Regions from separate parts of the Homo sapiens genome. Here all the other regions are linked to region 3. The links are contacts of gene promoters, found by promoter capture Hi-C in blood cells and fetal thymus (Javierre and others, 2016). All regions are on one chromosome and are shown on one strand. Each heading gives the region's core, a stretch centred on a gene start or on the middle of the fragment in contact. The rest is flanking DNA. Distances are from core to core; before and after follow the strand shown. Region 1 has its middle 6.7 kb from the start of POU2F1-DT. Region 2 overlaps LINC01363 (long intergenic non-protein coding RNA 1363). Region 3 holds the start of CREG1 (cellular repressor of E1A stimulated genes 1). Region 4 overlaps POU2F1 (POU class 2 homeobox 1). Region 5 overlaps POU2F1 (POU class 2 homeobox 1). Region 6 overlaps POU2F1 (POU class 2 homeobox 1).

The links. The method cuts DNA at HindIII sites, captures the fragments that hold promoters and counts their contacts. A CHiCAGO score of 5 or more calls a contact.
Region 1: a fragment that was not itself captured here is called in contact with the fragment with the promoter of CREG1 in region 3 in 8 of 17 cell types (fetal thymus, activated CD4 T cells, neutrophils and 5 more); the score reaches 8.1 in fetal thymus.
Region 2: a contact is called between a fragment that was not itself captured here and the fragment with the promoter of CREG1 in region 3, in 3 of 17 cell types (total CD4 T cells, naive CD8 T cells and fetal thymus). The highest score is 6.8, in total CD4 T cells.
Region 4: a fragment that was not itself captured here is called in contact with the fragment with the promoter of CREG1 in region 3 in 12 of 17 cell types (total B cells, naive CD4 T cells, fetal thymus and 9 more); the score reaches 8.9 in total B cells.
Region 5: a fragment that was not itself captured here is called in contact with the fragment with the promoter of CREG1 in region 3 in 6 of 17 cell types (fetal thymus, total CD4 T cells, total CD8 T cells and 3 more); the score reaches 7.4 in fetal thymus.
Region 6: a fragment that was not itself captured here is called in contact with the fragment with the promoter of CREG1 in region 3 in 10 of 17 cell types (fetal thymus, total CD4 T cells, neutrophils and 7 more); the score reaches 11.9 in fetal thymus.

The regions. Positions count from the first base shown.
Region 1 is chr1:167,211,694-167,216,040 of GRCh38, reverse strand. No RefSeq gene overlaps it. Among named protein-coding and RNA genes, the nearest start is that of POU2F1-DT, 6.7 kb to the left of the region's middle. The HindIII fragment of the contact is 4,156 bases long and covers 599-4,347 here.
Region 2 is chr1:167,190,871-167,194,845 of GRCh38, reverse strand. All of the region lies in intron 2 of LINC01363 (long intergenic non-protein coding RNA 1363), which reads left to right. Among named protein-coding and RNA genes, the nearest start is that of LINC01363, 2.9 kb to the left of the region's middle. The HindIII fragment of the contact is 2,029 bases long and covers 1,631-3,659 here.
Region 3 is chr1:167,551,631-167,555,879 of GRCh38, reverse strand. It overlaps CREG1 (cellular repressor of E1A stimulated genes 1), which reads left to right and starts at 2,118. Exons shown (of 4, transcript NM_003851.3): 1 at 2,118-2,492. The coding sequence starts at 2,139. RefSeq lists a silencer at 1,980-2,429. The HindIII fragment of the contact is 3,087 bases long and covers 139-3,225 here.
Region 4 is chr1:167,245,976-167,250,254 of GRCh38, reverse strand. The region is part of intron 1 of POU2F1 (POU class 2 homeobox 1); the gene reads right to left. It overlaps LOC124900412 (a long non-coding RNA gene), which reads right to left. Exons shown (of 2, transcript XR_007066718.1): 1 at 1-4,279. Among named protein-coding and RNA genes, the nearest start is that of POU2F1, 27 kb to the right of the region's middle. RefSeq lists an enhancer at 505-554. The HindIII fragment of the contact is 1,698 bases long and covers 1,067-2,764 here.
Region 5 is chr1:167,287,877-167,291,854 of GRCh38, reverse strand. The region is part of intron 1 of POU2F1 (POU class 2 homeobox 1); the gene reads right to left. It overlaps LOC124900412 (a long non-coding RNA gene), which reads right to left. Exons shown (of 2, transcript XR_007066718.1): 2 at 1-3,978. Among named protein-coding and RNA genes, the nearest start is that of POU2F1, 69 kb to the right of the region's middle. The HindIII fragment of the contact is 2,452 bases long and covers 55-2,506 here.
Region 6 is chr1:167,229,524-167,233,597 of GRCh38, reverse strand. All of the region lies in intron 1 of POU2F1 (POU class 2 homeobox 1), which reads right to left. Among named protein-coding and RNA genes, the nearest start is that of POU2F1, 11 kb to the right of the region's middle. The HindIII fragment of the contact is 1,057 bases long and covers 1,057-2,113 here.

The DNA.
Region 1 (4,347 bases), core at 1,427-3,926, 340 kb after region 3:
GGCCTAGGGATGCATTTCGTAACTAATCTTACAGCAGAGGCTTTCAAACTATGTTCTGTGAAGTCGTCAGTGCCAGCCTTGATGAAAAACAAGCCCTCTACGTCCCCTTCAGCCAGAATGGTTCTGCTTCACCTGTATTGGAGTTCAAGATGAGATTTTGTTTAAAAACATGGTATATATATATATGTGTGTGTGTGTGTGTGGGTGTGTGTACATATATACATATCTAGAAGTATATAAAATCAAGAAAAAAAAGGATGCCATTACTCTTTAGCATTCTATTGACACTTTGGCAAGGGTAAAAAGTAAATGAAATTAAATAATTGGTACAAATATTGGGGAGTCATAGAAATTATCATTTTTATGTGTAAGTTATTGTCTATGTAGAAAATACAAGAAAATCAATTGAATCGTTAGCATAGATAAAATAGTTTATACACACACACAAATAATTTCATATATATATATATATATATATATATATATATATATATATATATAATGAAATACACTGTCTTGGAAGATTCAACCAAAGTGCATAGACTGTAAGTACATCAAGCTTAAAGGTGCATATACTATAAATACTATTAAGCAAGCTTGGCAAAAGAAACTTTTAAAAGTTTTCAAGCCAGGCATGGTGGCACATGCCTGGAAGCCCAGTTACTTGGGAGGCTGAGGAGGGAGCTTTGCTTGAGTCCAGGAGTTTGAGACTAACTTAGGCAACATGGAAAGAGACTGTCTCTTAAAAAAAAAAAAACAAAAAAAGTTTTCAAGATAAAATGATGATGATCATTGGATATGAAGCACTGGAACCCTCATCTCCTTTTTGTCCATGTCTTATAGAGTATCCTGTTTTTCCAAGGAAGATTTTGATCCTGCCTCAGATATTTCCATGGTCTTTCCCCCTTGAGCAGGTGGAGAGACCTTCTGCTAAATTAATGAATGTAAACTGGTCACATGCCTTAACATTCATAAAAGGATGTCACACTTTCTGACTGTAGCTGACTACTGTAATTTATGTTCTTACCCTTAATGTACAGCATAGAATATTTCTACTTCTCGGAAATCTTTACAATTCATTACTTATCAAAAAGCTCAATATCACTTATGGAGAACTATCTGATGGATACATAGCCATTTTCTCTTCTAATTCAGTGTCAGCAAATACTGTATATGGCACTGCTCTTGCTACTTACTATCCTTTCCACGCCCCTGGGCAACTTCTTTAATCCATAACCCTTTCTTATGCTGAGCCTAGACTCTTGCTCAAACATGATTCTACCCAACCAGTGCTTTGAGCAGCCATTGGCATCTCCTAGCATTGGCATGCAATATAAAATCCATTTGCTATTTCACCTCTAGATACTCTTAAAAGCCAAACTGTCAGAAAGCCATGCACTTGAAATACATCATTTTGTCCCCTGTAAGATTCTTTCCTAGAATCGTACTTTGGACTTATGTCATCAGCCTACATTAAAATCATAAGAAGAAAAAACTCTTAGAAGTTATCATATTTACTGTAGGAGTGTTGTTGGAGTATCTGTCCTTTTTCTGAGGATTATTTTTTAGCATCTGAAGGGCAGAGATTAAGTAACTTGCCCAAGTTTACACAGTAAGGGACAGAACTAGGAATTGAACCAAAGATTGCCTGATTGCATATCCTCTGTTCCTTTCTTCTCTGAGCCCCCAGATTTGTTCGCCGCCTTAGCTGCCAGCTTCTGCCCCAACCTGCCTTCCCCTCGCATCTAGACATTCAATCCTTCACTTCGTTTCCATGCAATGAGATGCCTATTTTTCCCCCTGCATTTATTGACTACGTTTCTGCCCTTCCTGGTTTTTCCTGCCTCTTTTTATTCTTCCTCATAAGCATTCTCTAGATAAACTCTCCCTGCATTTACTCAACAACCCATTACAGTCTGACATCTGCTCCAATGATTTTACTGAAATTACTTTATTGGAAACCACTGATGAACTCCTAACTGCCAAATCTGATGACATCTTCACTCTTCATCTTGCCCCATCTCTCGGCAATTTGACAATGTTGATCGTTCCTTCCTTCTCAAAGCCATCTCTGCTTCTGGTCTCAATGACAAATTGCTCTTCAATTTCTCCTCTGATCTCTCTAACTCTGTCTTGATTTTCCTCACTGGATCCTCTTTTTCTTCCCATTAAATATAGGTACTCTCCGAGGTTCTGCTTGTGTCCCTCTCATGTTGCAAGCCTGTTTGGTGTCATTATCTGTCCCAATTTCAACTATTAATATCCCTCTGAAGACAACCTACTCCTTCAGTCCCCATCTCTCCTCTGATTGTCAGACTGTGTTACATTTGTCTCCTTCACTAGAGTATAAACTATCAAAGACTAGACTATATCTTCTTTTTTTTTATCTTCTTATTCTTAATGTTACAGTACAGGCCTAGACAGAGTCGATGCTTAACATTTTTTCTTTTTTTTTTTTTGTTTTTGAGACGGAGTCTCACTCTTGTCGCCCAGGCTGGAGTGCAGTGGCACGATCTCGGCTCACTGCAACCTCCACCTCCCAGGTTCAAGCAATTCTCTGCCTCAGCCTCCCGAGTAGCTGGGACTAAAGGCGCCTGCCACCACACCCGGCTAATTTTTTTGTAGTTTTAGTAGAGATGGGGTTTCATCATGTTGGCCTGACTGGTCTTGAACTCCTGACCTCATGATCCACCCGCCTTGGCTTCCCAAAGTGCTGGGATTACAGGTGTGAGCCACCGCGCCTGGCCAACATTTTTAAAACAAATTTTCTTGCCTACTTCTCGCTGTGTTTTAATGACCATCCAATGTCTTGTAAAAAGCCTTTATTTATTCATAAACATTCATCAAGTACCTACCATATACTTGACATTACTCTAGGCAAAATATTTCCTTTGGATTTCTGGAACATCCTAGGATCAGTCACATTTAGTTCAACCTTTTTATTTTCCAAGTCTACAACTATAATTCTTTATTTTACTCATTCAGATGCACAATTCTTCACATTTTAATATCTTTGACATCAAGATGCACCTTACAAAGGTTTGATAAGAAAGCACTGTATCATAGTTTAATTGGCAGCATTTTTTTGTTTTTGAGACAAGGTCTCATTCTGTCCCCCAGGCCAAGTGCAGTGGTGTGATCATGGCTCACTGCAGCCTCGACCTGCCGGGTTCAAGTGATCCTCCCACCTCAGCTTCCCAAATAGCTGGGACTACAGGGGTGTGCACTACCACACCCAGTTAATTTTTTATTTTTTGTAAACTCAGGGTCTTGCTATGTTGCCTAGGCTGCTCTCAGACTCTTAGACTCAAGCAATCCTCCTGCCTCGGCTTCCCAAAGTGTTGGGGTTTCAGGCGTGAGCCACCACGCTGGGCCTTGGCAGCATTTTCTAATGGTACATAAAATAATGGTGCATCTTACAATGACATTTTAAACTCTATGAAATGTAATGATTTTATACTGATAATTAAGGGTTATAAAGTTCATTCTATTATGTTTTGTTATCTGAGAAATGTTTAGTAATTCTGAGTGTGCTGGACTTTGTAAGGTAAGAAAAAAATATTTTTAAAGGATTTTCAATAATAAGGGTTAAAACTAAAGGAAAAGGACTTACAATGGCACAATAGTTTCACAAATCTAAACATTTCCTCTGCTCCAAATATTCAGCAAGACAGATGAAATAGAAAAAGAGAAAACCAAAAAGAAACAGACTCAAAAGCAATAATCATTTCCACAAACCAGGAAGAGCACATAAATGCAGACCAGGAGTAGGTTAGCTGCCTTGAGGCAGGCAGTGGTACTTGGAATTTTAGCACCACAAAGAGGTGCTAAAATGGGCTTGGAACTAGGCTCTGGGCTTGGAAGCATCCTGCCCTCTACACACAGGTACACACACTCTTTTTTTTTTTATTTTGGTAATTGGTAGATATTTTAATATCTACATATTACATAAATCAAAATTCAAAACTCAAACTATAGCATTTTATGATACAGAGAAATCTCATGTTTACTCCAGTCTCACTTTCCCTCTTCTTTAGGAAATCATTTTTATTGGTTTGTTGTGTATTCTTCCAATGGCTCTTCTCGCAACTATATATATTCTTATTTCTCTTCCTTTTTTTTTTTTTTGAGACAGGATCTCTCTATGATGTTGCCCAAGCTGGAGTGCAGTGGCTATTCACATTCACAGGCGCAATCATAGCTCACTGCAGCCCAAACTCCTGGGCTCAAGTGATTCTCCTACCTCAGCCTCCCAAGTAGCTGGGACCACAGGCATGTGGTGTCTCTCGCTTTCTTAAAAGGATAGCATACCCTTTTACACAAAAGATAGCACACCATATGCACTGT
Region 2 (3,975 bases), core at 1,396-3,895, 360 kb after region 3:
TTCAGGTGATTCTCCTGCCTCAGCCTCCTGAGTAGCTGGGACTACAGGCACGGGCCACCACGCCCAGCTAATTTTTGTATTTTTAGTAGAGACGGGGTTTTACCATGTTGGCCAGGATGGTCTTGATCTCTTGACCTCGTGATCCACCCACCTCGGCCTTCCAAAGTGCTGGGATTACAGGCGTGAGTCACTGCACCTGGCCAACACAGTTTTACTTTTTGTCAGTGTGGATGATAATCTCTTCTTTGAGGTAAACATTTTTGAGGGAAAAAATGAAATAATAATGAAAGCTAACATTTACCGAGCACTTACAACATGTGTTTCCATGTCCTTTTCTGCTAGTTTTAACATCTGTGTGTGTTCTGAGTTGGGAAAGTCAACTTTAATTGATTAATTATTCTCTTTAATCTGAGTCATGATTTCTTGCTTTTTTGCCTGCCTAGTTATCTTTGACTGGATGCCAGACATTGTGAATTACATATCGTTGGGTGATAGATATTTTTATATTACAATAAATCTTCTTAAGCTTTGTTTCTCAAGAAGAGATGCAGGCCAGGCATGGTGGCTCCCCGCTGTAATCCTAGTGCTTTGGGAGGCTGAGGTAGGTGGATCACTTAAGCCCAAGAGTTTGAGACCAGCCTGGGCAATATGGTGAAACCCCATCTCTCCCCCGCCAAAAAAATTTATATACATGCCAGGTGTGGTAGTGTGCACCTGTGGTCCCAGCTACTCAGGAGGCTGAGGTGGGAGGATAGCTTGAGCCTGGGAGGCAGAGGTTGCAGTGAGCTGTGATTGAGCTACTGCCCTCAGCCTGGGAGACCAGAGTGACACCCTGTCTCAAAAAAAAAAAAAAAAAAAAAAACCAAGAAAAAGAAAAGACAAAGAAGAAGCAGAAGAAGGAATGGAAGGAATGCAGTTACTTGGAAATAGTTTCATCCTTTTGGTCTTGCTTTTATGATTTGTTAGGTGGAAACAGGGCAGTGCTCAGCCTAGGGCTAAATACTCTCCACTACTGAGGCAAGACCTTCTTCCTGAATACTCCACCCAATGTCAAATGAATTAAGTTTTTAAAATCTGACTGAAAAAACACAATTCAGGCACAATTTCTGGCCCTGTGTTAAACCAGGCACTGTGTCCTTTAAAACCTCCTCTTAAAGTTGGTTCCTTCCCCATATTCAGCATTTGGATCAGTATTTTCTCTGCAGAGCTCTGAGATTCTCTTTCTGTGCACCTCTCTCCTGTCTCATATTCTGTCCTCTCAACTTAGACTGCTTTGGTCTCCCCAGACTCTTAGTTTTGTGTCCTCAACTCAATGAGATCACCAGTCTCTGCCTCAGTTTCCCTTCCCTGAGCCATAGCTTGGAAAATGTGTCAAGGCAGTAAACTAGGGTAATTGTAGGGCTCATTAATTTTATTTTCTGTCTCTGCAGGATCACTATCCTTTGTTACCTGATACCCAGTGTCCTGAAACTACTGTTTCATATATCTCATCCCTCTTTTTGTTACTGTTTTAGGCAGCAGGATAAAATCTGGTTCCTGTTATTCAATTATAGCCAGAAGCAGAAGTCAGAACTTTGTGTTTGATGTCACCTCAATTTGGATTAAATTACTAACTTTGTTCCTTAAAGCTTGTGTGATCTCATCAAGTTATATAAACTGCTTGAGTCTTAGTTTATTTTCTGTTAAATGGGATAAACAAACTCTTTTTCAATATGGTACCACAAGAGAAGAATGAGAAAACGTGTGAATCACAGTATGTGCTGATGAAAGAAAGGATGAGCAGCCAGGAAATATGGAAAGAAAAAAATCTCGATGAGAGATTGAGAAGGGAAGAGAGTAAGAGACATGGAGTAGAGATAGCCTGGGAGGGGCCCCTTGGGTAAAGGGGATGGGGAAGAGATGTGGGGGAGTAAATACCAGTGGAGGAGGAGATGGAGATGGCATAACAGAAGTGAGGTAAAGGGAAGGAATTCTGTAGCTGCTCAAGGTTGTGTGGTTGGGGTTCTGCATAGAGATGCCCAGCCTAGGGGTGAATGAGTCTGGAAATCTAACCTGAATGCAGCAATCCAGGCCGTCTTCCCAGAGAAAGGCACTTTTACCTTCTCTCAGAGGCTCCTTCTGCCACCAAGCTATGGCTTATGGGTACATCTGCCTGGAGGCATGTGCTTTCCTAATTTGCACAAGGTGCTGTGAAGGCTGAGAGGCCCTGTCAACAAACACTGGATATGCTGGATATAGAGACACTTATCACCTTAGAGGAAAACATCTCTTTTGGCTTGGAACTTTGGACAGTAAAGAGCTTAATGCCATTTATTCATTTGTTTATTCACTTGTTGGGGCATTCATTCATCCAACAATCATTACAGTCGGTACCACAGTGGGCCAGGCACTATGCTGGGGGCTAGGGATAAAGTGAACAGGGCACAGTTTCTGCTTTCTAGAACAGAGATGTCACAGGTTATGTGATGTGGTACCTGTGGCCTGACAGTGAGAGGAGAGAAGTCAAGGTGGGGACCAAGAGACCACCTGGACTGTAGAGCTGACCAGGTAACTATCACCAGTGGGACAGGATGACTTCTGGTTTGCACTCCCAGTGCATCCAACTCTCTCTACTGCCTATCAGCCTTAGGAAGAAGGATGTTGGCATTAGGTTCGGGGATAGCAGAGCCAGTCTGGTGAGCCTGAGAGAAGTGTTGGGAACTTTTGTTGGAATGTGGAATGCTCAGCAACTGGCATTCTCTCTGAGTACCAGTCAACATCTCTTACATTCTCCCTGAGGGGGTGTGTTCAGCTATCACAAAAAACTATCATCCACACAGGAAAGAAAGACTCTGTCCAGATTTTTAAACCTAACACCCACAGGTTGTTCCTGAGTCTCCTTTGTGGCCTCACTATCATAATTCCATTTTTGTCTTTAGTGTTCAAATCCAGGAATATGTTTAAAATGCTGTATCTGGACTTAGAAAAATAAAATCTGAAGGGACTTGCAGAGGGTGATTTTTTAATTTTAAATTTGCTGAATAGATAAAATAGTCATATGATACAACATGCAAAAGCTACAAAATGATATTTTGAAAGTAAGTTTCCCAGCTACCCAGTTACCTTCTTCAGAAGCAACTGTTACTACCTGTTTTGTATGTCTTTCCAGAGACACTTTATACAAAAGGAAGCAAATATGTACATACATAGGGGCATAGGCTTTTTTATTAATACACAAATGCTGACTCTCTATATAAATATAGATGTACGTATGGTTCTGCAGTTTGCTGTTGCACTTAAATATATAGGAAATCTCTCACCAATTTTAACTTGTTTATTGAGTAATATTAACCCTATGAACATGAAGTGGTTTATTTTTCTCTAACCATTGCTTTCATATGTATCCCATCAAATATCCCTTTCTGATCTGGTTGCACACATACTGGACTTTGCATGCTAACTTTCTGACTTGAATTCATCTTTCTTTCTCTAGTACAAGGTATCAGTCCTATGCTAGCAATGTCCCAAATGAATTACTTTCAGAAAGTGTAAGACTTAAGGAGAAATTTTTGTTTTAAATTAGGAAATACAAAACTCCTTCTTGGGTCAGATTCGTTTTAATTCTCCGAAGTTACTTGGGCTGCCAAATCACATACCTTCCCTTCTTTTTGATTGAAGCTTTGGAGCCTATATTAGTCCGTTTTCACGCTGCTGGTAAAGACATTCCCAAGACTGGGCAATTTACAGAAGAAGGAGATTTATTGGACTTACAGTTCCACGTGGCTAGGGAGGCCTCACAATCATGGTGGAAGGTAAAAGGCAGGGAGGGGCAAGTCGTGTCTTACATGGATGGTGGCGGCAAAAACAGAGAGCTTGTGCTGGCAAACTTCCATTTTCTTAAACCATCAGCTCTCGTGAGATTCATTCACTCTCATGAGAACAGTTCAGGAAAGACCCACCCGCATAACTAAATCACCTCTCACTGGGTTCCTCCCA
Region 3 (4,249 bases), core at 869-3,368:
TTTCCAGAATAGCAGAATCAGGAGCACCCGTGAGAGAATGAGACAGGCCATCTTAGAAGAAGCAAAAGGAATGTCCCTTACATGGAGCAGGGAAGGGCAGCGGGGGCAATAAATTCATGAAACCGCCGACCCCAAGCTTAATGTCTTAACAGGTCCTGAACTGGTAAGTTCAAATTTGTACATGGGATATTGATAGTAGACTAACAATCCCTTTGTGCGTCTATATGAGGGACTCCTGGGCCAGTAGTTTAAAAGGTCTTGACGGGCAATAACAAATGTTGGTGAGGATGTGGGGAAAAGGAAACCCTTGTACACTGTTGGTGGGAATGTAAATTAGAATAACCGCTTTGGAAAAAAATTTGGAGTTCCTCAAAAAATTAAAAATAGAGGTACCATATGATCCAGCAATCCCACAGCTAGGTATATCCCTAAAAGAAAGAAAATCAGTATATTGAGAGATGTCTGCACTCCTGTGTTTACTGCAGCACTATTCACAACAGCTAAGATTTGGAAGCAACCTAAGTGTCCATCATCAGATGAATGGATAAAGAAAATGTGGTATATATACACAATGGAGTACTATTCAGCCATAAAAAATGAATGGGATCCTGTCTGTCTTTGCAACAACATAGTTGGAACTGGAGGTTATTACGTGAAGTGAAATAAGCCAGGCACAGAAAGACAAACTTCACACATCCTCACTTATTTGTGGGAGCCTAAATGGAAACAATTGAACTCATGGAGACAGAGAGTAGAGGGATGGTTACCAGAGGCCAGGAAGGGTAGTGGGGGGACTTGCAGGGGAGGAGTGGGGATGGTTAATGGGTACAAAAAATAGTTAGAATAAGACCTAGTATTTCATAGCACAACAGGGTGACTATAGCCAATAATAATTTAAGTGTACATTTAAAATAACTAAAAGTATAATTGGATTGTTTGTAACACAAAGGATAAATGCTTGAGGCAATGGATACCCCATTTACCCTGATATGACTATTATGCATTGTATGCCTGTAGCAAAATATCTCATGTACCCCATAAATGTATACACCTACTATGTACCCACAAAAATTAAAAATTTTAAAATAAGTAAATAAAAAGTTTTTTAAAGGTCTTGAACTTTCGGGCTTCTGCCTAACTTTACTACTAGTGTAAGTGGGCCCCTTGAGATTTCAGCACCCCAGCATTTGTTAGTGACTGAAATAATGAAAATTCTGATCAGGCCCTTGCTTGCACATGTTGACAACTCTCTTTTTGCCCAATATCCCTTGTTCCTACAACATAATCATAAACTGCTGATGTACTGTTTCTTTATCAAGCAGGAGGAGATAATAACTTCAGGGTTACGAAAAAGTTTGCAGGAGGAATAAGTCCTTTGAAGTACTTTGAGGCCAGCTTCTGTCGCCCAGAAGTCTGATTGTTCAAGGAATTATCTGAGACTGAAGAAACACAGACTTTTTCCCTCGATTCCCTGAAACTCCCCCTCCCTGACTCGCTGGCCGCATAAACACTCTCTGCTTCTTCTTTTTGTTAGGGCGGATTTGAGAGATCTTGCCCTCCCGCCTTCTCGCTTTGGCCAAATCGAATAAACTTTTATCTCCAAGCACCTATATGTCAGTGTTTGGCATCAGCTACACATGGGGTACACGAGCCTGAGTCTGGGCTTCTACAACGCTGGGACCCTCGCTGTTCTTTGGAGCTGATGGTAAATTCAACAGAAAAGAGGCGCATGGGTAGAAAATGCAGCATTTCCTCTCAGATGCCAGATATTCATCTCCAAAGGTATTAAAAGGAGGGGGTGTGTGCCTGTGTAAAGAGGCTGGTCTTTTCCTAGCAGTACGATTTGGGCAAGTTGCTTGATTTCTTCAAGCCTTTCTTTTTCCGCCTGTCAAACAAAACAAAACAAATATCCCGTTTAGGACAAATTCACAATCCTTAAAGAGGGCAGGCAGAGCGATTGGAATGCAGATGAACCAATCCCTTCTCCTGCAGGTTGCGGAGCTGCAGAGGGACCCCGCCCCCTGCATTGTGCTTAGCTCTGATTGGCGCCTCGCGGAGGGGGCGGGGCCTGGGCGCGCCGAGCTCCGGCTGGGTCCCTGCAGGTCTTGGGGCCCGGGACTCTTCCTGGAGACACCGCCATGGCCGGGCTATCCCGCGGGTCCGCGCGCGCACTGCTCGCCGCCCTGCTGGCGTCGACGCTGTTGGCGCTGCTCGTGTCGCCCGCGCGGGGTCGCGGCGGCCGGGACCACGGGGACTGGGACGAGGCCTCCCGGCTGCCGCCGCTACCACCCCGCGAGGACGCGGCGCGCGTGGCCCGCTTCGTGACGCACGTCTCCGACTGGGGCGCTCTGGCCACCATCTCCACGCTGGAGGCGGTGCGCGGCCGGCCCTTCGCCGACGTCCTCTCGCTCAGCGACGGGCCCCCGGGCGCGGGCAGCGGCGTGCCCTATTTCTACCTGAGCCCGCTGCAGCTCTCCGTGAGCAACCTGCAGGTGAGCTGGGGCCCGCGGCTTCCCCAGGCGGGCTGTGGGCGGGGCGGCCACAGAGCGAGCCTTCACTCTCCCCAGAATTCTTCCCGGGAAGTGGAGCGTGGCTCGAACGGCTGTTGCTTCTCTGCCGCGCAGGCAGGTAGGTGGGCGTTGCAGCGTCCCAGATGTTGGGCAGCTGGGTACCAGGAATTTCCCACAAGCCTCCGCCACTGGGCCACGCACCTGGGGTAAATTCTCTGCCAGCAGCCCGAGGACTTCTCATCCGTGAGTGGTTCTCAGTCGTCTTGGGGCCCAGTGTCTCTATTAACTGTGCTCCTATTCTCTTTTTTTTTTTTTTTCCCTTTGAGACAGAATCTCACTTTGTGGCCCAGGCTGGAGTGCAGTGGCGCTATCTCAGCTTACTGCAACCTCTGCCTCCCAGGTTCAAGCGATTCTCGTGCCTCAGCCTACCGAGTAGCTGGGATTACAGGTGCGTGCCACCACACCCGGCTAATTTTTGTATTTTTAGTAGAGGCGGGGTTTCACCATGTTGGCCAGGCTGGTCTCAAACTCCTGACCTCACGTGATCCACCCATCTCAGCCTCCCAAAGTGCTGGGATTACAGGCGTGAACCACCGCGCCCTGCCTGGGCTCCTATTCTTAAAGGTTTTACAGGGCATAGAGATTGTTAGGTACTTAAGCACTTTAATATGTGACTTCAGGGTTTCTCACTCTCTTACCCTTCCTGAATTAAGCTTTTCCCTCCTGCAGCAAGACGCTAACGTACAATATCATGGACGATTACAATGATTACTGCAGTCTTTAGGCCTCCACAGGCATAGTGGCTCCTCAGTAAGATGCAGAGCTGATTGAAGGTGTATCTCTTCCTCGCCCTTTGCCCACCTTCTGGTGCAGGGCCACACTTACAACTCTGATGGATCTCTGCTGTCTCAGGGATGGGGTCACAGACACCCAGCTTGGGAGGCCGGAGACACACAGAGTCCAGGAATGGAGCCTGATTTGATGGAGGGTCTTTTTGACAAAGCTCTCACATTTGAGTTCAACTCTGAAAGTACAACATTGTTGATAAAGACAGGATGCAAGAAACTGATGCTTGATTAATCACTTTTCCATTTGCCTTCCATTCGTTGTCTCTTCTATTAATTCTTTGAAGTAGGTATTATATACCCCATTCTGCAGATGAAGAACTTGAGGCCTACCTAGGTTAAGTAACTTGTTTAAAGCCAGCGGGCAAACCCCTAGTTTCATCTCAGGTTCATCTTTCTTCAAACCACCTATCACAGGCTGGTGGCCCATCAGCTGAATATGTCCCACAGACCGGTTTGGCCTACACAAAGTTCTGTTTTGTTTTTAATAAATTTGAATTTGTTACCAACATTTTAAAATTTAGATTTTACTTTAAAATGTAAATCTCTAACTTTTCTTGAAAAATGGGAAGATCCAGTGACACTGTGGGCCTGCACTCTTTGAGCAAAAACAGAAGCAGTGCCCTCTTTTAGCTAAGGCAGATACACCCCAGTTCACCATTTTCTTATTCCCAGCCCATTCCACACCTTTAGGCGTTTGCTCAAAACAAACTCACTCCACTCCATCAGTGGTGCTCAACTTTGACTGCAAATCATAGTCACCTAAGAAGGCTTTAAAAATGGGATGCCAAGGTATTTTATTGAAAGCACATTTTATTTTAAGACAACACCCCTTCCCGCCTCCCCACAAACCACTCCCTGATGATTCTAATGGGGGAGGAGGGAGATTGACCA
Region 4 (4,279 bases), core at 666-3,165, 310 kb after region 3:
AACAATCAAAATTAAAGATGAGTGCCCAACCATTTGTTCTTCATCTCATATTTTTTTCTCTTCTCTATTTTCCGGAAGGAAAATGCCAGAACAGATTGTCCAGAATGACAGAAAAGGTCAAAATACTGCTAATGTTAAGTGTTATGTTAGAAAATATACTGAAAAAAAAAATGACACACAAAAGAATTTGATACTACAGATACTGCTCCTTTTCAATGAAGATTTTGCATTATTCTATGCAAACAAGAATAAAATGTCAATTACAAAAATAAACATAACTCCTGTTAATGAAATAAGTATCTACCATCTGACAGCAAGAAGTGGGCAAAGGTAACACCATCTTGCAAATGATGCTTTCATTATTTCATTGCTCATCACAGTGCTCCACTGCACACACAAGGCCCATCCTCACTGTAGGTGAGTCAGCATGAACTCTCACGACTGTCACTTCAGTCATTCACACCAATGACCACCAGATCTTGAAATGTATCACTCAGGACAGTTCCTCCTCTAAAACTTTAAACTCTCCCAATACTACCTCAATACTCCCAGACCTCTGGCTCTTTTACTCCCATTAAAGAGCTTTTCTGCAATTCACCTGACCTCCTGCTCTTCCATTTTCCCCTAGACCATCAATTCACTCCCGTCTTCACTTCCTTCTAAATTCTACTGAGACCACAGGGTCCATGAATGACATTCCTGTCAAGACTTTCCACTCCCTTGCTCCCCTGTCCTTCTGTTCCACATCCTAACAAAGACCCCAATCCTGGAGGGCTGCCATCTCCACTCCTACTTCTACACCTTGACCTGTCAAGCACTATTAGAAAAACAAAAAGAAGGCATAACCCTACACTGCCTAGCAAGTTTCCTCATAAATCTCTCTTTAGAACCCAGATTTCAATGGGATGAGGAGGGAATGAAAGTTATATAGCAGAGGCAGGGAGTTTAGAGGAGTTTACAAAGAAGTCTGGAGATAAGGGGAAGCAAAAGGCTGGTATCTAGAGAAAACAGAAGGGAGAAGTTCGAGAATGCTGAAGTTTAAGAGGGCTGGTTACTAGGGAAAGCTTGGAGATGAGAAGATAAAGGATGCCAAACATTCTTACAGAGGCAGAAAAAAATGGATAGGATCCACTGCTTCAGATTTTAAGAAAATAATATATGTGTTTCAGTAAGAAGAATTAATTGAAAAGGTTTTCTCACCCCAGGTACTTATCTCCGGTGCAATCCAGAGTTTAACTTTTCTCATAATAAAAGCCAAAACTCCGAAATGAGACAACATGGGTTTAAATCCTAGTTCTTCTACTTTCTCATCATGTGATCCTAGACAAGTTATTTTCTCTTTCTGTACCTCAGTTTCCTCATCTGTAAAATGGGGATAATTATAATACCTACATAATAAAGTTGTTATGAAAATTAAAGGAGTTAATACATGGAAAATACAAAGCACTTGGAATAGCAATTGGCACATAATAAGCACTGTATATTAAATGTTACCTATTATTGTAGTTAAAAGACTGAAATGCTCTTAGATGCTCTTGTGTTTGTTCAGTACTACAAGGAACATACTCCCCTCAACCGCCTTATCCCAACCTAATTCCTATTATCCCTCAGCTCTGGGGATCTTCTTTGAGAAGTCTTTCTTGACTCTTCCTCTCCCTCCTCCCCACAAACTACTGGGTTAAGTGAACCTATTCCATTACTTCCATAGCATACAGGATTTATATCCTTCACAGCATTTATCACAGGGTATTATAATTTCAGTTGACTCATCTGTTCCTGCTCCTTGCCTCCCTTTCCCTACCGAACTGTGAGTTCTTCCAGGATAGGAGCTACCTTTTCTATTTAAAGTTCAGGGGGCTGTTAAAAATAAGTCCAGCAATGTATGCAAATCAGTGTAACACAGTACCTGATGGAAATTAGACGATAAAGCCTTAGATGATTGTTTTGTGCTTTCTTGCAAGGTATAACAAAGCAAAACAAATTCATCCATTAAGTTCATCTACTAACTTGCTGTCTTGTCTATCATGAATAAATGTGATGCAGTTAAACAAGTAAACATAACTACCCACTGAGTTCTTAAAGGGCACTGTACTCAAAAGAATAATCACACATCAATTTCCTGCAATGCTTTTTTAAATTCAGAACATTACTCACACAATTCTTTCCAAAATAAATCTGATAACAGGTTAAAAGGAGTAAACTGCTGTATACTCTGTAAAGAAAAATACATTAACTTCCAACTACACACCTCTTTTCACAAACCAAAGATCATTCTATTATTAGAAAAAGATACTTCCCCCTCACTGGTTATGAGAATCTGACTAGTGTCCATTGTTGTTTTATCTCTCTGCATGCAACCTTAAAAAAGTTAAACATGGCAAAATTTAAACATTCAAAATCTGCACAGTTTGATTGCATGGTATAAATATTCTACTTGTACTTTTTGTTTAATATTTAAGCATACCTTTTCAAAGGTACATATGTAAAACACGTAGAAAAGCCAAGCTAGGTTTGTCTTTTCCAATAAGTCATAAAGACATATTCCACTTACCTTACTGACCAACAACAGAATTCCTACACCAAAGTTAACAGTATGGAATAGTATGTATACTGGATCATTGTATTATAGACAGAATTTTAAAAAAAAACTATAAACAGGTCAATGTTCCAATTGATAGAAGCCTAGTAAGTACTATATAGCTCAAAACTGAAACTCAAGTGGGGATGGATATTTTCAGGTTTGAAACAACAACAAAAAGAAGCTTTGGATGAGGAAAAAGTTGGGTAACGAGGAAATTTAGGTAAAGATTAGAATATATGCCATTTTAGAAGAATCCTTTACAAATCCAAACATTTTAAAATTCGGAGATATAAAAATTGTATCACAGGCTGGGTGTGGCAGGTCACACTTGTAATCCCACAGAACTTTGGGAGGTCGAGGCAGAAGGATCACTCAAGGCCAGGAGTTTGAGACTAGCCTGGGCAACCGTCTCTACAAAAAATAAAACAAAATTATCCAGGCATGGTGGCACACGCCTATGGTCTCAGTTACTTGAGAAGCTGAGGCAGTTACATCACTTAAGCCCAGAAGGTTGAGAGTGCAGTGAGCCCTGATCTCACCTCTGCACTTCATCCTGGGCGACAGAGTGAGACCCTGTTTCTTTAAGGAAAAAAAAAAAATTCAATCACACACACACACACACACACACACACACATATATATATAACCTGATTTACTTGTAAAATTACATTTAGCATTAAACTCTATAGCACGTGGTTCATAGTTACCAATTTATTTATATCCTAAAGCATCTAAAAGTATAAACTAATCGATTTACTGTCTATGGGATTACTGGGTCAGTTTCATTTTGATGATTTTTAAAAATACAGTATTACTCCTTCCATAAAGTACATAGGTATATAATAGCTCATTTAACAGTTCCATTTAGGTTATTTCCAAATTTCACCTTTTTAAAATGAAGGACAGATAAGCACCTTTGTTCATAGCTTTTTCCAAACTTAAGGAATTTCCTTAAGGTATATGTTTTAAGTCACTACAAAAAGACTGCACAGGTTTACACTTCCATTAACAGATATGAGTGTCCAATTTACTGCATTTGTCAGTCAGCACTGAAAATCATCATTATTTTCATTTCTTACAATCTGATTTTAAATGTTTCTCAGTGTTAATTTATACTTCTTAGATTATTTGTGAAGCTAACAATTTTCTAAGTTCACTAAAAAATTTTATAATAATAATTTCATTCAATATTTTTTAAGCAAAGACCTAAAGAGAAAAGTAAAACACACAGAAATCAGAAACAAGGAACAATATAGAAGATTAAATGAGCATATATTTCGAATGTAAATATGTAAAGTTATTCAACTGAGGCATAAACTTGGCACTAAGACTCCTGGTGGCTAAAGCAAAGAAGAAAATGTTCTAAACTTTGCTTTAGGAGGAAAGGGGGAACAGCAGCATTTGATTTCTCAAGAAAAGCAAAACTTTTTTCAGGTATTTAGGATTTGAAAGAAATCTCCTAGGTGGGTCTTCATGAAAAAAAAATTCAAAGTGACTTAAGGACAACCTTCTCAACAACAATAAATCTGATAGAAGGGCTCATTTGTTGTTTAATGTTCTATCATTATTATCATTACTTCTATTTTTGTACATGAATCTTAGATATTACAATACAGTTTAACTGACATCAAATTCTTCTCAATAACCTTGCTTATTTTTAGATTTGTAAGCAGAAATAAACTTAGATTTTCAGAAAGT
Region 5 (3,978 bases), core at 31-2,530, 260 kb after region 3:
GCCTCTGACTGTTTAGGAGGCTAAATGAGGCTATTAAAATTCTCTTGCTAAGCTTTAATATGCTAGTAAATAGATATTATTTTCATATTGGAAAACTTCAACAATATGCTGACATACTGTAAAAGGAAATGTTATACTTAATGTGAGGAAAGCACCTAGCACCTCCCTGCACTCTGAAAAATTAAAACCTTAAAAAATGTGTTTTTCCTTTATTATAGACTACCCCCTAGAATCTCCTTTAACTTAGAGAACATCAGCATCCAGACATTTTACCATACTCTCTGGATCCCTTCTTACAAATATATCACTTGTTTGTACTAAAATAATCCCAATACTAAGTGAAAAATTAGGTTACAGGCCACAAAAGAAAATAAAAGTGGAACAATTAATCATAACAAATAATCAGCTGTGCAAACCACCACTGAACCTTTCCCAGGGTTTTTCCTTATCACTTCACAAAAATAGCTTAAGCACCGCTGTCCTATATCATTAGATTTAGAATCAAATCTAACATAAAAGGCAACCTTTATCTCTTCTGGTTCTTGCAAATAGCAAAGGATAAAAATCACAGTTTTAGAGCAGAGAGAAATGTTAGCAATGATCAATCCAATGCTTTCATTGTATAAATAAGAAAATGATGTGCAAGGTTGCATGATTTATTTAAGGACACTGAATGAATAGCAAAGCTGAAATTCAGATCCATTTTCTGATTCTTAGTTCAGATGAGTGTTCTTCACACTGACGCCTCTCCTTCAGAAATGCATATTTTCCAACAATTTTATGAAATGACTTTTTTTTTTTTTTTTTTTTCTGACAGGGTCTCACTCTTTAACCCAGGCCGGGTGCAGTGGTGCAATTGTAACTCACTGCAGCCTTGCACTCCTGGGTTCAAGCAATCCTCCTGCCTTAGCCTCCCCAGTAGCTGGGATTATAGGCACATGCCAACCACATCCAGCTGGTTTTAAAATTTTTCTTTTGTAGCGATGTGGTCTGGCTACGTTCACTAGCCTAGTTTTGAACTCTTGGCCTCAAGTGATCCTCCCCCCTTCACTTCCCAGTGTTGGGATTACAGGCATGAGCCCCTGCTCCTGGCCAAAATTACTTTTTAAAAAGTCATCAATGTTTTGCCGATCTTTTAAAGTATACTGATCATGAGTAACTACTCTTAAAGATAATTTCATAAAATGTTCACACATTCACTCACTCAACAAACAATTTTGAGAGATTACTATGCATAGGCACTGTACTCTGCTCCATGGGGTCAGAAAGATGAAACAGACATGATTCTGACCTTGAGACGCTTCAGCTGGATGGATGACAAGTTAGGACAGACATATAGAATCTGTAATTTGAGCAAAAGCTAAGAAATGCTTTTACTAAATTTTGATAAAAGGGTATAATCATATGCATATCTCAACACAAAAGAGAACATGTGGTTTTCGTGCTACACTTTTTTTTGAGACAGGGCCTTGCTCTGTCGCCCAGGCTGAAGTGCAATGGCACGATCACTGCCCACTGCAGGCTCAAACTCCTGGGTTCAATCAATCCTCTCACCTCAGCCTCCCAAGTACATGGGACTATAGGCGCACACCACCACCACCACACTGGGCTGATTTTTGTATTTTTTGTAGAGACAGGGTTTTGCCATGTTGCCCTGGCTAGTCTCAAACTCCAGAGCTCAAGTGATCCACCCGCCTCTGCCTGCCAAACTGCTGGGATTACAGGCATGAACCACCGCACCCAGCCTTCATGCAATCTTAGTAGTTCCTTATTTATGTAGGAATCCTGTAAATAATTACGTATTTGTGGAATAAGTTTTATTACAAAGAAAATGAACTAAGTGCTTAAACTGTATAACATAATTTGCAGTTTTGGATACTGCTTTTGAAGTCTCTTCCAAGTTACTATAATTATTTTTCATTATATTTTGTCTCCCTATGTAAAAATGTAGATTTATAATTCAACTAATTTGGCAAATATTTAAATGTTTTTACATTACAATGGGGTCACAAAAAAACTGTCTAAAAGAGAACAGAACACAAGCCAGCAAATAAATGAACATCTCAGACCAAACGTTTTCAAATGGGTTTGAGTTCCACTGGCCAAATATAGAACAGAGTAAAAGTTAGTGTAACTCCTAAGACCTGAGATAGAAATTTTAAGTTATGGCAATCTGGTGTGATTGATCATAAAATCAAAATTAATTTCCACAAAATATGTTAGTCACATTAAACCATCACATTAATATACCCTCTCAGCACTTACAGCACCATGTAAATGTACACCAAACTCACTCACAAGCACCTTACAGCCTTTGGAATTTCTGTTCCTTCCACTGAAGATGCTTCTGCCCAGGCCTCTGTCTTTGTCTGAATGTCACCTCCTCAGAGAGACCCTTTGAAGTCACTATCACATCACCTGATTTTATTTTCTGTATGTACTTCTCCTAAATTTAAACCCTGTTCACTTGTCTGGTTTCTGTTTAGTCCTCACTAGAAGGTAAGCTTGCTGAGCACAGGCACCTTATAAGTCATGTTCAGTACAGCAACCTTAGTGGTAGAATCTGACAAGCACTCAGAAACATTTGTTGAATGAATGAATGATGCCTAGAAAGTCAATAAATATTACGTCAGGGATATTAGATTTAAGTCCACAATAAAACTTCAAAGAAACTATTTCAAAAAAAGAAACATGTGCTCAGACCACTCATTTATTGATTTGGAATAAAGGCAGCTCATCTAGCAAAATGCTACTACAAGTATACTCCCCTCATAGACTACCTGAAATTCAATAGTTTAAAAAAATAAAAATAAAAACATGGTTAGCAAATACTTCTTTTTACAAGTCAGGACCACAAGTGACCAAGCTTCCGGTTTGTGATGTTCTTGGCCATTTAAAGAGCACTGAGTTCCATTTTACTTATTGTTATAATGTTTCCCCCAAGATTAGCACAGGTTCTCAAATAATAAATTTAGAACTGTCTTCTATTTAATGATTGTGAAATCTGAGAACATTTTGAACGGAAATTCTAGATCCAAACTATAAATCAAACACAAAAAATTAGGATCTTGGTAAGGAGGGGGCAAGGTCAGTTAATATCTAAATTAAAATTTGTTCAGCAGCCTATAAGTAGACATAAATCTTTGTTTTTTTGTTGTTGCTGTTGTTTAGACAGGGTCTCATTCTGTCACCCAGGCTGGAGTGCAGTGGCCTGATAACAATTCACTGTAACCTCAAACTCCTGGGCACAAACACTCCTGCCTCAGCCTCCTGAGTAGCTGGAACTACAGGCACAGGCCACAGCACCTGGCTAATTTTTAACTGTTTTTGTAGAGATGGGGCCTCATTATGTTGCCTGGGCTAGACTCGAACTCCTGAGCTCACACACCTGGCCAACATAAACTTTTAAGAAACCTAGCCACTCCAAGTCAGCTCCTAAAGACACTGTATCTGTTAACTTTGAAAAATAAGACTAACCATGTTAGGAATCCTGTTGAGATTCCAGCTTCTCTTAATTTCTGAATATGAAGTCAATTCCACTGTCTGTCACAATGGAATAAGAAAACACGTTATTTCAGGAAAACTGGTGAATAATATATCTGTTAGCCAAGCATTTACTATGTACCAAGGTCATAAAATAAGCGTAGTTTACTTAGATTTACCCACAGGCTACCAATATATCTGCTCATTATTCCCTCTTGCATTTCAGTCTTTCCTTCTGAGTTCAATTTCCTTCTCTCTTAAGTACATCTTTTAAAAGAATGTATGATGGTAGCCAACTCAGTTTTTATTTGTCCAAAAAGTCATTTCATCTTTACTCTTAAAGTTCACCTGGGTAAAAATTTAAGGTTGGCAGTTATCTTTTCTCAGTATTTTATAACTTGATCGTCTTTAGGCTTCCATCATCGCTACTGAGTAGTTAAATGTGGCTCTTTTATGATCAATCATCTATTTTTTTCTACTCTCTATTAAGATATT
Region 6 (4,074 bases), core at 336-2,835, 320 kb after region 3:
CATATTTACACAAACCCAAATGGTATAGCCTACTACATACCTAAGCTATATGGTATAGCCTGTTGCTCCTAGACTACAAACCTGTACAGCATGTTATTCTACTGTTGTACTGCAGGCATCCTAACACAATGGTAAGTATTTGTGTATTTAAAAATACCTAGGCCAGGCACAGGAGCTCACATCTGTAATCCCAGCACTTTGGGAGGCCAAGCCAAGAGGACTGCTTGAGTCCAGGAGTTGAAGACCAGCCGGGGCAACAAGGCGAAGCCCCGTCTCTACAAAAAAAAAAAAAAATTAGCTGGGCATGGGTGCGTGCGCCTGTGGTACCAGCTCCTCAGGAGGCTGAGGTAGGAGGCTCATCTGAGCCCTGGAAGGTAGAAGCTGCAGTCAGCTGTGACTGCACCACTGCACTCCAGTCTGGGTGACAGAGCTAGACCCTACTTAAAAAAAAAAAAAAAATTAAAAAATAAAAATATTTAAACACAGAAAAAGTATAGTTAAAAACATGGTATAAAAGATTTAAAAATGGTATACCTGTAGAGGGCACTTACCTGAATGGGCTTGCAAGACTGGAAGTTGCTTTGGGTGAGTCAATGAATGACGAGTGAGCGAATATGAAGGCCTACAGCATTACTGTACACTACTATACACTTTAAAAACACCATATACTTAGGCTACACTAAATTTATAAGAGAAAAAGTCTGTGTTCAATAATAAATTAACTAGCTTACTGTAACTTTTTTTTTTTTTTTTGAGATGGAGTCTCACACTCTGTCACCCAGGCTGGAGTGCAGTGGCGCAATCTCAGCTCACTGCAACCTCCACTTCACGGGTTCAAGTGATTCTCCTGCCTCAGCCTCCCGAGTAGCTGGGATTATGGGCGTGTGCCACCACACCCAGCTAATTTTTGTATCTTTAGTAGAGATGGGGTTTCACCCTATTGGCCAGGCTGGTCTCGAACTCCTGACCTCAGGTGATCTGCCCACCTCGGCTTCCCAAAGTGCTGGGATTACAGGCATGAGCCATCACGCTGGGCCTACTGTAACTTTATAAGCTTTAAAATGTTAAAAACTTTTTGACTCTTGTAATAACAGTTTCAAACACACTGTACAGCTATACAAAAAATTTTTCTTTATATCCTTATTCTATAAGCTCTTATCTATTTAAATTTTTTAAATTTTTACCTTTTAAATGTTTTTGTTAACAACTAAGACACAAACACAGACATCAGCCTAGGCCCACACAGGGTCAGGATCATTACAATGTCACTAGGAGATAGGAATGTTTCAGTTCTGTTATAATCTTATGGGACTGCCATTGTATACTGGTCCATAGACTGAGAAGTCATTATGCGGTACGTGATTGTACAGCTGACCCTCGAACAAAATGGGTATGAACTGTGTGGGTCCACTTAAATCAGGTTTTTTCAATCACATGCAAATTAAAAATACAGAATTCACGGGATGCAAACAGCTCATAGTCACAGGGGCTCTGAGGCCCAGGGGCCAGGCACACTTTTCACATACTCGGGTTCCACAGGGCCTGCTGCAGGACTGAGGCATGTGCAGATTTTGATATTGGTGTGTGTGTGTTGGGGGAGGAGGGCACACGAGTAGGGAATCCTGGAACCAATCCCCTTGTGGTATGCCCCTGTGTATAATGAGGGATGTCTGAGATGTCTGCATAGTGTTCCCTTTGCTCAGAACATTTTCAATTCCACTTCTCACTCCCAGTTCTTGAACTGATTAATTCCTATTCATCTTTCACATCTCATTGTAAACATGATATCCTCAGAGAGCCCCTTCCCAAATCCTCTTGTCCAGATTAGCAGTCCCCACCTTATGCTCCTGGGGTACTTCAAATCTCTCGTATTCTACTCATTAAACTACAACCAGTATTATTTAACATATGATTTCCCCAACTGACCAATATACATTTTGAGAGGGCAGAGATGTTATCTTATTCATTACTCTACCACCAGTGCTCAGTACATTACAAGGAGCAGAAGCTCTATAAATATTTGTTGAATTAAATGAATGCAGAAAGACTGGCCATATTGGTTCATCATAATCTAGTTTTTATTCACACTGAGTACCACAATTATTGATAAGCTTACTACCTTTGTTCATTCGCATTCTAATAGGATGTTTCAAGTTTAAAGTCTAAATCCCATCTTCAGTACTACCTACTGCATACAATTTAGCTCTCCTACTAGGACAGGACCAAGCTTACCATGTTCTATATTTTTAATAAATATTCAGGTACCCAGATGAAAGCCGAACTGATAAAAATATATGTTATATTTACTGGTCTTCACCCAAAAGATGTTTCTGAATAATTCCAGTTTAAAAAGGAAAAAAAAAGTATGAAAACTATTCACCTAGCTCAGCCCATAATTTTATCAATAAGAATCCTATGGGTTGGAAAAATTTAGTGATTTATTCAGGATCAGAAAGCTATTATCGTTAATGCTAAAAGCAGAATAAGGATCCAAGTCTCCTAATTCTCAGTCTGTCTTTCCAGTATAGGGCCTTTCTGGTGCATTAACTGAAAACCATTATTCAAGGTATGCTAAGCAATAAATAATCTTGAAGTGCAACAAGTAATCATTTAATGTTATCAAATCACCTGTAGAGCTTTTTTAAAGTATGGATTTTCAGACCTCTACTGTATTAGAAGTTGGGCCTTCTTATGTTGAAAAAGTTCCATGGGTCACCCCATGGTGACAAAGATTGAGAACCACTAAGTCCATCAACCAAGCATTCATTATTTGTTAAATGTCTAGGCCTACTCTGTCCCTACCAGTATGTTCCTGCACTCAAGGCTCTTAGGACAAGATTTACTTACATAATCAATTAGAGAAGAAAATAGGACTGTGTATAATGAAGTGCTGAATTGGGTAACTGAACACAAATTAAGTGCTAATTTCAGAGAAAGTATGACAGGAGCTCAGATTTGACAGATGGCTATTTGTGGAGATAAAGAAATGGACAGACAGGTCCCTTAAGATAAATAAGGACAAAAGTTTTCAAGTCATGACCAGCAGAAGTCCTAAGGACCCTGTGAAAGTGCCTCAAAAGCTACTGTGGAAAGGAGGAGGAAAATGCTTTTCTTGCTCCAATATCCAATTTTAATCAGAACAGCTCCACTTTTGCCTTTAAAAAAGAACACCAAAGGCTTTTAAAAGTTTGAAATCCCTTATTTTACAAATGCAATTAAAAAAAAAATCCATGGTGAAGTAACTTGTCCTAAAGTTACTAAGCTAATTAGTGACAGAGAAGCCAGGTCTCTGAACCCCCCAGTACCTTTTTTCACTCTACCATACCATACACCATGGCCTTCCAATGGAGGAAAAAGTGTGAGTAAAGGTTCTCACACAACGTCCCAAACACACTGGCTTGACCAAAACACTGGGTACACATTCAGGTCATGTGTCTCAAACTGGGATTGGTGTTGCAAGGATGGTAATGGGAGAAAGGCTCAGGTAAGTCTCAGGATAAATTATAGCCATCCTCCCAAGATAGATCTTCAAATTTTAGGGAAATTTCTTTAAAAATTAAAATCTGATAATATGCTGTATTTGTGGTAGAAATGGACAATAAGGGAACTTCCTTGATGGAATTGTTGAGTCATGCTATTTAAGGAAGTAGTAAAGATAATAATGCATAGGCAAGGGTAGGGGCTAGATAACAGAATGCCCTGAAATCAAGGTAAGTTGTATTTGCTACAATGCAACACCTCCACTGTATAAAGTTTTCAGAAGAGTATTAGGAGTGTCCATTCCTCCTAAGATGCTGGCTGCACCAAAAAATGAACAACCTACAGTCAGGTGCCCCACAGAATCCATCGGCTGCTAAAGCTTCTGCTTCTCTACAGCAGCACAAGTAATAAAATTCCTGATTTTACTCCTGTGCTCATGTAAGAAAAACTATTACAGAGTTACTTTAAAAATGCTTCTGCTATCAATTTGATACTCCCCACAGCATCCCTCTAACACTGGTATTATCACCATCGTATTGTTGAAGGAAATAACCTTAGAAGACAGTGCCAAAGCCAAAATGAGATATCTAGAAT